Regions from separate parts of the Homo sapiens genome. Here region 2 is linked to region 1. The links are contacts of gene promoters, found by promoter capture Hi-C in blood cells and fetal thymus (Javierre and others, 2016). All regions are on one chromosome and are shown on one strand. The core of a region is centred on a gene start or on the middle of the fragment in contact, and the rest is flanking DNA. Distances in the headings are between cores, read along the strand shown.

Region 1 (5,099 bases), core at 1,270-3,769:
TTTGCCCCTTGCAGTGGGACGCCTTCAGCATGCCTGAACTACATAACTTCCTACGTATCCTGCAGCGGGAGGAGGAGGAGCACCTCCGCCAGATCCTGCAGAAGTACTCCTATTGCCGCCAGAAGATCCAAGAGGCCCTGCACGCCTGCCCCCTTGGGTGACCTCTTGTACCCCCAGGTGGAAGGCAGACAGCAGGCAGCGCCAAGTGCGTGCCGTGTGAGTGTGACAGGGCCAGTGGGGCCTGTGGAATGAGTGTGCATGGAGGCCCTCCTGTGCTGGGGGAATGAGCCCAGAGAACAGCGAAGTAGCTTGCTCCCTGTGTCCACCTGTGGGTGTAGCCAGGTATGGCTCTGCACCCCTCTGCCCTCATTACTGGGCCTTAGTGGGCCAGGGCTGCCCTGAGAAGCTGCTCCAGGCCTGCAGCAGGAGTGGTGCAGACAGAAGTCTCCTCAATTTTTGTCTCAGAAGTGAAAATCTTGGAGACCCTGCAAACAGAACAGGGTCATGTTTGCAGGGGTGACGGCCCTCATCTATGAGGAAAGGTTTTGGATCTTGAATGTGGTCTCAGGATATCCTTATCAGAGCTAAGGGTGGGTGCTCAGAATAAGGCAGGCATTGAGGAAGAGTCTTGGTTTCTCTCTACAGTGCCAACTCCTCACACACCCTGAGGTCAGGGAGTGCTGGCTCACAGTACAGCATGTGCCTTAATGCTTCATATGAGGAGGATGTCCCTGGGCCAGGGTCTGTGTGAATGTGGGCACTGGCCCAGGTTCATACCTTATTTGCTAATCAAAGCCAGGGTCTCTCCCTCAGGTGTTTTTTATGAAGTGCGTGAATGTATGTAATGTGTGGTGGCCTCAGCTGAATGCCTCCTGTGGGGAAAGGGGTTGGGGTGACAGTCATCATCAGGGCCTGGGGCCTGAGAGAATTGGCTCAATAAAGATTTCAAGATCCTCCTGCTGTTGGAATCTTTTATACATATAAAGTTTTTGTAGAGACATGAGTCTCTCTGTGTTGCCCAGGATCCTCCCAACTTGGCCTCCCAAAGTGTTGGGATTACAGGTGTGAGCCACCCTGCCCAGCCTGGACTCTTTATTATTATAGGCGCAGAGCTGCAGTTGCCCCTCATGGTGCCAGAAGTTGCCAAGGGTGATGGACAGGCTCCCAGGTGTCTTGCAAAGTCACCATGGACCAATTTGTGAAGATGTAGTATGCATACATACTTGGTCATCACTCAGCTCCCTGGGGCTCAGGTTGTGGTGGAGACAAAAATGGACTGCAGTTAGAACTTAGGGAAACTGGCTGGGCATAGTGGCTCACACCTGTAATCCCAACACTTTGGTTGGGCTAGGTGGGCAGATCACTTGAGGCCAGGAGTTCGAGGCCAGCCTGGCCAGCATGGCGAAACCCCATCTCTACCAAAAATACAAAAAAAATTTAGCTGGGCGTGGTGGTGGGCGCTTGTAGTCCCAGCTACTCAGAAGGCTGAGGCAGGAGAATCGCTTGAACCCGGCAGGCAGAGGTTGCAGTGAGTGGAGATCACACCACTGCACTCCGATAGAGCAAGACTCCAACTCAAAAAAAAAAAAAACGGCCGGGCGCAGTGGCTCAGGCCTGTAATCCCAGCACTTTGGGAGGCCAAGGCGGGTGGATCACCTGAGGTCCGGAGTTCAAGACTGCCTGACCAACATGGTGAAACCCCGTCTCTACTAGAAATACAAAAAAATTAGCCGGCATGGTGGCAGATGCCTGTAATCCCAAGTACTCGGGAGGCTGAGGCAGGAGAATCGCTTGAACCCTGGAGGCAGAGGCTGCAGTGAGCCGAGATCGTGCCACTGCACATTATCCTGGGCGACAAGAGTGAAACTCCATCTCAAAAAAAAAAAAAAACAAAACCATCCCTTCAACACACACACACCACGCTCTGGGAGAAGGTGTGGCATAACTCCTTCACCAAATACAGAGCTGCCACCGTGGACCAGACACTGCTCGTGATACCGAGGGTATAGCTGTTAACAATTCTTGCTTTCATTAAGCATGGACTCTGCTGGGTTTGAAAACACTGAATTCGAAGTTCTTCAGAACTGAATGTAACTATGTGAATCTGGCCAGTTCCTTAATTTTCTTTCAACTTGGTTAGTTCACATAAGCGTGGCAATCGCAAAAATACAGCTGTGAAAATAGAAGCCAGATGGGCACCCGGCGGTCTGGCCTTAGGCCCTGAAGTGCAGGTTTGAGGATTGGTGCTTGCGAAGTCCTGCTAGGCCTGAACTCAGGTGTTGGGGGACGTCAGAGCCGCCAAATACACCCAAAAGACCGGGAGGACTCACGGCCACCACTTTCCTCGGTGGGAGCTGTCCCAGCTGGTCAGATCGCGCTTGCTGGGACCTGGGATCTCGCAACGCATGCTGGGATGCCCAGCATCTAAGGGCGCCCATTGGTCCCGCCCCCACGACTTGAGCAACAGCCAATCAGAGGTGGCAGCGTGCGGAAGCGGAAGTGAGGTTTCCGTGGAGACAGCCGAGCCTGCGGAAGGCGGCGGCGGCGGCACCTGCGATCAGCGGCTGGGGCAGGTTATGGTAGTGCGGACTGCGGTGTGAGCAGAGCGGCCACGGGGCCCGCCATGCGCCGGCGGCCCTGACATGGGCGCCAGCGGGTCCAAAGCTCGGGGCCTGTGGCCCTTCGCCTCGGCGGCCGGAGGCGGCGGCTCAGAGGCAGCAGGAGCTGAGCAAGCTTTGGTGCGGCCTCGGGGCCGAGCTGTGCCCCCCTTCGTATTCACGCGCCGCGGGTAAGGGCATGGGTTCCACCCTGGCGGGGGGAACAGGCGGGCGGCCAGGCGTCCCGCGCCACGGGGGAACTTCCACCGCTGTACCCCACTACAGCCAAGCCAGGACGACCCCCATATTTTGAGCCTCATTGGAGCTGGGGGTGGAGAAAGCCGGGCAGTGGTCTCCTGGCGGCCTGGCCACTCTGAAAGTCTCCCTAGGGAAGAGTGGGCCTGAGGCTTGTCACTGGTCGGACCTTCCGCACGGTAAAGCTAAGCTAGGGCCTCCATAAGACCTCCATAAGATCTCTTCCTTTCATCCCTTCCGGCTCAGCCTGCATACTGAAGGGTCCTAGCCTCCCTTTCCCCCCCAGTTATTCCAAGGGGATAATAACCCTCTGTTTAGGCTGCTTTTCCTGACAGTAGTGGGGCTGAACCTTTGAGCGTAGTGGCTGGGAAAGCAGGGATAGGCCTCAGTATTGGGGGTGAGGCTGAGGAAAAAAGACCCTCACCCAGTTATGTTCTCCAGATCCAGAGCGCTGACCTACCCACCCAACCCCCAGCCCAGTCTCCCAGAGGCCCGCACAAGAGTACCAGATTGGCTTGGCTCTAGTGGGCTCCTGGAGATGGGCGCTCCCTGTGCTAGAGATTTGGCTGTAGACACCAGGAAGACCCAACAGTGGCAATTCACCAGCCACCTGGGGTGTGGGGTCAGGGGAGACGCAGCCTTCATTCCTTTGTGCTTCTTCCTAGCTTAGGCTTCTGCTATTTCAGTCTTTGACACTGGGCCAGCAGCATCTTCTGGAGTGAGACCAACATGCCCAGGCCACCACCCTGCCCACTCTAGAAGTCCTGGGTGAAGGCAAAGTCCTGATATTAGAATGGCTGCCCTTGCTGAACAAATCAAGGATGAGAACTGGCCTTGGTGGCTGCCTGGATGGTGTGCTCTGGTGTGGGCTCTCTTCTTGGGGGTCTGACATAGTAGCACTGCCCACCCATCACCTCACTTCCCACTTTCTTCTAGTAGACCCCAAACCCCAGGCAAAGGATTCTCCAGGCAGGCCAGGCACCGTGGCTCACGCCTGTAATCCTAACACTTTGGGAGATGAAGACGAGTGGATTGCCTGAGTTCAGGAGTTCGAGACCAGCCAGAGCAACATGGCAAAACCCCGTCTCTACTAAAATACAAAAAATTAGCAGGGTGTGGTGGTGCATGTCTGTAGTCCCAGCTACTTGGGAGGCTGAGGCAGGAGAATTGCTTGAACCCAGGAGGCAGAGGTTGCAGCAAGCTGAGATCGCGCCACTGCACCTCCAGCCTGGGCAACAGAGTGAGATTCTGTCTCGAAAAATTTTTTTTAAAAAAAGGATTCTCCAGGCATATTATCCTCTTTTCTTCCCACTTGGGGTTGGGAAGACCACAGACTTCCCCGTGACCTGTGACATTTGCCATGCCCAGGTGTGGGGCTCCAGCCCAGCCTGTTTCCTTCTCCCTCTACACAGCTCTATGTTCTATGATGAGGATGGGGATCTGGCTCACGAGTTCTATGAGGAGACAATCGTCACCAAGAACGGGCAGAAGCGGGCCAAGCTGAGGCGAGTGCATAAGAATCTGATTCCTCAGGTGAGGGGCTGGGCAGCGGTCACAGAGCCTACACTAAGCGTGTGGAGGTGGACCCAGATGGGATCTGTTGTCATGGTGGGGGCTTTTGCGGGGGGATCTGGGAGGAACAAGGAAGCTTCCTGAAGTAGAGGCCCTGAGCTGACCCTTACTAGCCTCTGTTTCCATGGCAGGGCATCGTGAAGCTGGATCACCCCCGCATCCACGTGGATTTCCCTGTGATCCTCTATGAGGTGTGACCCTGGGAGGTGGCAGACAGAAGCACCCCCTGCCCCGGCAAGAAACTCCCAGGCTCAATCAAGGTGTGGCTTCCATTGAGGAGCCCAGGCTGGGGCCACAACCCTGAATAAACTCTGTTGGCCCATAACCTTCAGCTGTGAGCGGGTCGGTCCCACAGTATTGGTTGGGTGTTGGTTTGTGTGTGGACAAGAGGTGGTTGGTGGGTGGTGAAGGCTAATGGCAGAGTTAGCACCCCACTCTCCCAAGCCACCCCTGCAAGCAGCACAGCAGGGCATATACCAGTCAGGAATGCCCGTTACCTGGTTCCTTGCCTGGTCTGCTTTCTTCCAAGTTTGCCTGGGGCCTAGCCCTGCTAGAGGCTACAGCACTTTACAAGCAAGGTATGCTTTCTTCCAGCCCCTAGGCTGTGGGCACTGTATACAAGTAGGAACTTCCTTTCCTTCACTTCCCTTTTAACCCCTAGTCAGAGCATTTCAG
Region 2 (5,099 bases), core at 849-3,348, 1.9 Mb before region 1:
GTGGTGGTGACACAACAATATGAATGTACCACTGAACTGCACATTTTTAAGTGCTTAAAATGGTAATTTTTCTTGGGCATTTTACCACAACAGAACAAAAACTTTTAAGAAAAAAAAAATCACTACTTTAAAAAGCCAAAGGGGCCGGGCACGGTGGCTCACGCCTGCAATCCCAGCACTCTGGGAGGCTGAGGCAGGTGGATCATTTGAGGTCAGGAGTTTGAGACCAGCCGGACCAACAAGGTGAAACCCTACTAAAAGTACAAAAATTATCTGGGCGTGGTGGTGCATGCCTGTAATTCCAGATACTTGGAAGGCTGAGGCAGGAGAATCACTTGAACCTGGGAGGTGGAGGTTGCAGTAAGCCGAGACTGCATCACTGCACTCCAACCTGGGCGACAGAGCAAGACTCAGTCTCAAAAAAGAAAAATTAAATAAATAAAAAGCCGAAGGCCAAATGTTTAATGAGGGAAATTAGAAGGCTAAATGTTTAATGAGGGAAATTAGAACATTCCAATTTAATATTTATGTGAACGAGGCACTGAGGAAACACTAAAACCCCTATAGACACTAACGTGCAATCCAAAAACCTGTAATGTGCAACACTGGCCACTGTTTCACCTTTAAAGATGGAAAAGCTAAAAGTGCCTACCCTTGGGGGGACAATCATATGAGATAATCTGTGCTCAGAGCCCAGCCTGCACATAGCAGCCCTCTGTGAGTGAGTGTGACCCTCACCACCACTGTGGGGACTGCTTCTAGTCTACCAATGAGCACAAACACCCATACCTGCTCCTTCATTGTCAATGACACTTACTCTCACTGGCCGGAGGGGTTTCTTTGATCTGTTGGTAGTGTACTGCTGCAGTGGACAATGCCCGAGGGGCTGGCTTGGCCCCAACTTCCATCATCTTGGGGCAGTTTTGGGCATAGAACAACAGAGATTTGCCTGCTTTCTGCAGAAAGGCCTGGGGGACTCGGGATAAGAATGGGCAGCGGCGAACAACACTCTCCATGTTCAGGAAGTATGCTGGCTCCTGTGGAAAGACTGATGAAGAGTGACATCAACAGTTGTTAATAATCAGGCAAATATCACTGCAAGCTCACTGGATTCAGGTGTCAACCGCAGTTTATATAAAGGGTACCCTGGAATACTAACACTTCTCCCTCAAAAATGCCTAAGGACAGCACTGATGTGAGCTAAGGAATGGTGACCACACTTTACCCGGGTCACCAACTTCTTCATTCTCCAGCGCTACACAAAGGCACCTGCAAAGCAACTTCACCAAATGAATACTGACAGTACATAATCAAGGGGGCGGAAGGATGAGGGAAAGGTCAAGAACAGGTTTGGGAGGCCAGAGGTTTCTTAGGGAGATGCACAGTGCAGATAAGACATCTTGGCTTACATCTAGGTGGAGAAGAAGCCACTCATCCATCCAGGCAGGGAAGACTCTTAGGGATCCTGACTTTCTCCTGGTCCCCACATCCCCTAAACCCGAGGAAGGGGTCCAGCAGGGTCCCGAGTCCCTGAAGCAAGGATTCCTCCGTGGTCGTGTCCCCACAGCGGGAAGAACTGGGCATAACTGAGAAAGGAGGGGCACAAATGAGGGTAGGGGTATGAGGGCCAGCGCCTTGGGCCTCACTGGGGACGCGCAGGGGCTTATAAAGTCGAGGGAGTTGAGTCTGGAGAAAGAAGGCAGTCCTCCGGCAGTGGGGGTCAGAGGTGACCCGCGGTCGAGGTCTCGAGAATGACGGGAGGGGTATGAGAAGGGAATTCTAAAGCGGCGGGTTCAACCGGGAATAGCCGGAAGGGGCCGAAAGGGGGAAACTGAGGCGGCCGTCTAGGCAAAAGATCTGGAGGATAAACGCTGACCTCAAGGCGGCGGGTGACTGGGACAGTGGGGGATGGGGTCCCAGCACCCGGGGCAGCGGTGCCACGGCTGGCAGGACACCCCGGGGCTTCCTCGGCCGGCGCCGCACCTACCGCGCGGGCCCTCACCTGCGCTGAGGACTGCAGAGGCGGCGGCGAAGGAGGCGGGCACTCAAGTCGAGAAGTCCAAACGAAACGCTCGTTGCCCTTGTCCGGGAGCAGCCTCAGGCCGCGATCGCCGGCGCCTTAATATACAGCGGGAGTGACCGCTGCGCATGCGCCTTGGGCGCTGCCTTCTTCTGCGCAGGCGCGCCGCGTAGCCCTCGGCGAGCCGGGGGGGCGGGGCAGAGAGGCCCACTTCTTGGGCTCTGCGGATATCGGTGCTGCCGGGGATTCCCCGGCTCGCCTGCAGGGAGGAGGAAGCGCTAGGCGGTGGGCGGACGAGGTCTCTTTTCCCGACCTCATCCTGCACCCTCGTGCTGCCTCCCCACCAACTACCCTGGGCTTCAGAACCCTACGCCCCAATTGAGTATAAAATGGCAAGGTCGAGGCGAGGTGCCGCTAGGGCCAAGTTGGGGGCTACAGGGTTGTTAAGCTGGGTGTCTTGGACATGGAGGAAGAAGGAGATCCAAGGGGTTCTGGGCCGGGGTGTTAAGCAGGATCCATCCCGCCTGCGGCTTGCTTTGGAAACTGTGAACAAGGGCTTCCCGGAGGAGGTGGAGCTGGCTATATCGCCCACAAATGGAGTGGTCCTGGCAGGATGCGGAAGAAGCGGGACACTCAGCTGTGGCACTTTCTGGTCTAAGATGATCCAGAGGGGACAGAGGAACAGGGCTAGGGTGGAACCCATCCACTCCACAGCTCTGAGCACTTGGGGAGGAGGGGAAGGCACAGGGCCTGACAATAGTTAGCGTGTAACAAATATTAGCCACTATTTTTATTTTCCATCCAGGGTTGTCTGAAGCCCCTTGCTGGCCACCCTGGGCACCAGCAGGGTGGCTTAGGCCTCCATGCCAAAGGTCAGCGTTGGGCCATACCTCCATTGAGTTTCCCGGGTACAACACATAAAGTGTAGGGCTTGGCAAACCCGTCTCAGGAATGTCAGTCTGGCTTCCTTGCCCCACACCCTTCCCAGCTTGGCTTGGGCTGTGTTGGGCTGGGCCTGTGCCAGGCTCAGAGGTACTCTCCTCCATTCTTGAGGAAAGGGCCTTTGAGGGTATTCCTTTCCCAGCTGAGCATTAACAAGAGGGACAAAGTCCAGAATGATGGTGACCAGGGTGTGTCCAGGTACTTTGCATTTCTGTCTCTGAGCACCCAGCTGGCTGCAAGGCAGGTGAGGTGAGTCTCCACCTTCAGAGGAGGCACCTGGGTTCAGAGTGGCAGTGGGACCAGTCCAGGATGAGGGCTTTGGTCTGAGAGCTCGAGACCCAGTTCTGTGCCATTCAGCCAAGAGATCCTGGGCAGTGCCCATCACCCAGAGAAGATGAGAGAGAAAAGGTCAGCACTTGGACTTGGACCCAAGTGCAGCTGGAAGTGGGAACAGAATAAGGATGATATTGAGTGCTTTGCTCATCTTTGGGCCTTGCTTTCCTTATCTGGGCAATAGGATCATAATCCCTGAAATGCCTGCCTCACAGGTTGTTTTTGTTGTTGTTGTTATTTTGTTTGTTTGTTTGAGACAGAGTCTCCCTCTGTTGCCCAGGCCGGAGTGCAGTGGCACAATCTCGGCTCACTGCAACCTCTGCCTCCCAGGTTCAAGCGATTCTTCTGCCTCAGCCTCCTGAGCAGCTGGGATTACACCACCACGCCCAGCTAATTTTTGTATTTTTAGTAGAGATGGGGTTTCACCATGATGGCCAGGCTGGTCTTGAACTCCTGACCTCAAGTGATCACCCTCAGCTTCCCAAAGTTCTGGGATTATAGGCTTGAGCCACTGCGCCTGGCCCTCATAGGGTTTTTTTGGGGGTGATCAGAGCCAAAGCCAAAGCAGAAAGAACTGGATAGTGGAGTTGGGCATGGGTTTCAAACCCAGCTCTGAATCTTACTTGGCCATAGACTTGGGCAGGCCACAACCTCTTCAAGGCTTGGTTTCCTGATTTGTAAAGCTCTCCCGCCCTGCCACTTGTGGCTGGCAGGAGGGTCAGGTGAAGTCCTGTATTTCAGAGGCTTATTGTTTAAACCAGCCAGTCCCTAGCCCTCTGGGAGTTTCCTGTTTAATATAGAGAAAGATTGGGAAACAAGGCCGACTCACATGGAAAGTGAAATAGAGTGTTGTAAGCAACTCCAGATGGAGGAAGAGGAGGAGGCTATTACTCCAACAGGCGCTGAAAGAGGAGGATCCCAACCACGAGGAAGGCTTCCAGAAGAGAAGCGGGTGCTGGTTGGAAGGGTGGATCTACATGCGACTGGGAGACTGTGGGTGAAGCCTTGGATGGAAAAGGCTCAGCCCTGTGGGGGTGGCGGTTGGGGGGTCAGCGTGAGTCAGCCCAAATAGCTGGGCAACGGGAGTATGGTCAGGACCTGACGCCAAGAGGTCAGACCAGAAAGGCCCTAAATGAGCCACGGGGTTTCCCAGTGTCAGGGCCCAAAGAACCACCCCCAGGGTACCGGTCAAAATGCAGATTCCTGTGCCACACACCTTTGATTTTGACCCAGAAATCTGCATTTTAACCAGCTCCCCTTTCTGATGAGGTAAGGGTGAGGTATCTTGGAATATGTTTCTTGAGTGGTTCAAGGTTTGAGACCTTGAAGAGCAAGGCATAAGCCATGAGTTCTAGTCCTAACTCTGAGATCTTGAGCAAATTGCCTCATGCCTTAAATCTTAGTTTTTGTGTCTGTGAAATGAGAATGACCCCATCTGCCTCAGTGATGAGTCTGGGTGGGCACTATTCTGCTCCAGTTGTGATCCTTCGGGGCCTCTTCTTCTCCCCTCCGCCCCCTCCTCCTCTTCTTCTTTCTTTTTCTTCTTTTCCTTCTCCTTCTTCGCCTCTCACTCCTCCCTTGTCCTTCCCTCCTTCCCCATCTTCTTTTCCCTTTCTCTCCCTTTTTCTCTCTCCCTTACCCCTCCCTCCCTTTTCCCTCCTTCCCTCCTTCTCCCTCCCTCCCTTCCTTCTCAGAGCTACAGTATAAACTCATCTTATCACTCGCTCTGGCCCTGGGCAGCTGGAGTTGAGGCAAGGTCAGGCCCCATCCCAGGGATGACGCTGGGGACTTTTTTCCCTCCCAC

What was found. Contacts are between HindIII fragments. The CHiCAGO score rates a contact against its expected background, and 5 or more counts as called.
Region 2: the fragment with the promoter of ALAS1 here is called in contact with the fragment with the promoter of TUSC2 in region 1 in 2 of 17 cell types (non-activated CD4 T cells and neutrophils); the score reaches 6.2 in non-activated CD4 T cells.

The regions. Positions count from the first base shown.
Region 1 is chr3:50,325,643-50,330,741 of GRCh38, reverse strand. It overlaps TUSC2 (tumor suppressor 2, mitochondrial calcium regulator), which reads left to right and starts at 2,519. Exons shown (of 3, transcript NM_007275.3): 1 at 2,519-2,788; 2 at 4,265-4,385; 3 at 4,556-5,099. The coding sequence starts at 2,643. The coding sequence ends at 4,621. It overlaps RASSF1 (Ras association domain family member 1), which reads left to right. Exons shown (of 6, transcript NM_007182.5): 6 at 15-954. The coding sequence ends at 161. RefSeq lists an enhancer at 2,275-2,384. The HindIII fragment of the contact is 3,021 bases long and covers 1-2,735 here.
Region 2 is chr3:52,195,159-52,200,257 of GRCh38, reverse strand. ALAS1 (5'-aminolevulinate synthase 1) reads right to left here and starts at 2,098. Exons shown (of 12, transcript NM_000688.6): 1 at 2,003-2,098; 2 at 1,410-1,586; 3 at 818-1,048. The coding sequence starts at 1,016. RefSeq lists silencers at 1,857-1,936, 2,047-2,116 and enhancers at 2,257-2,476, 2,487-2,556. The HindIII fragment of the contact is 12,746 bases long and covers 1-5,099 here.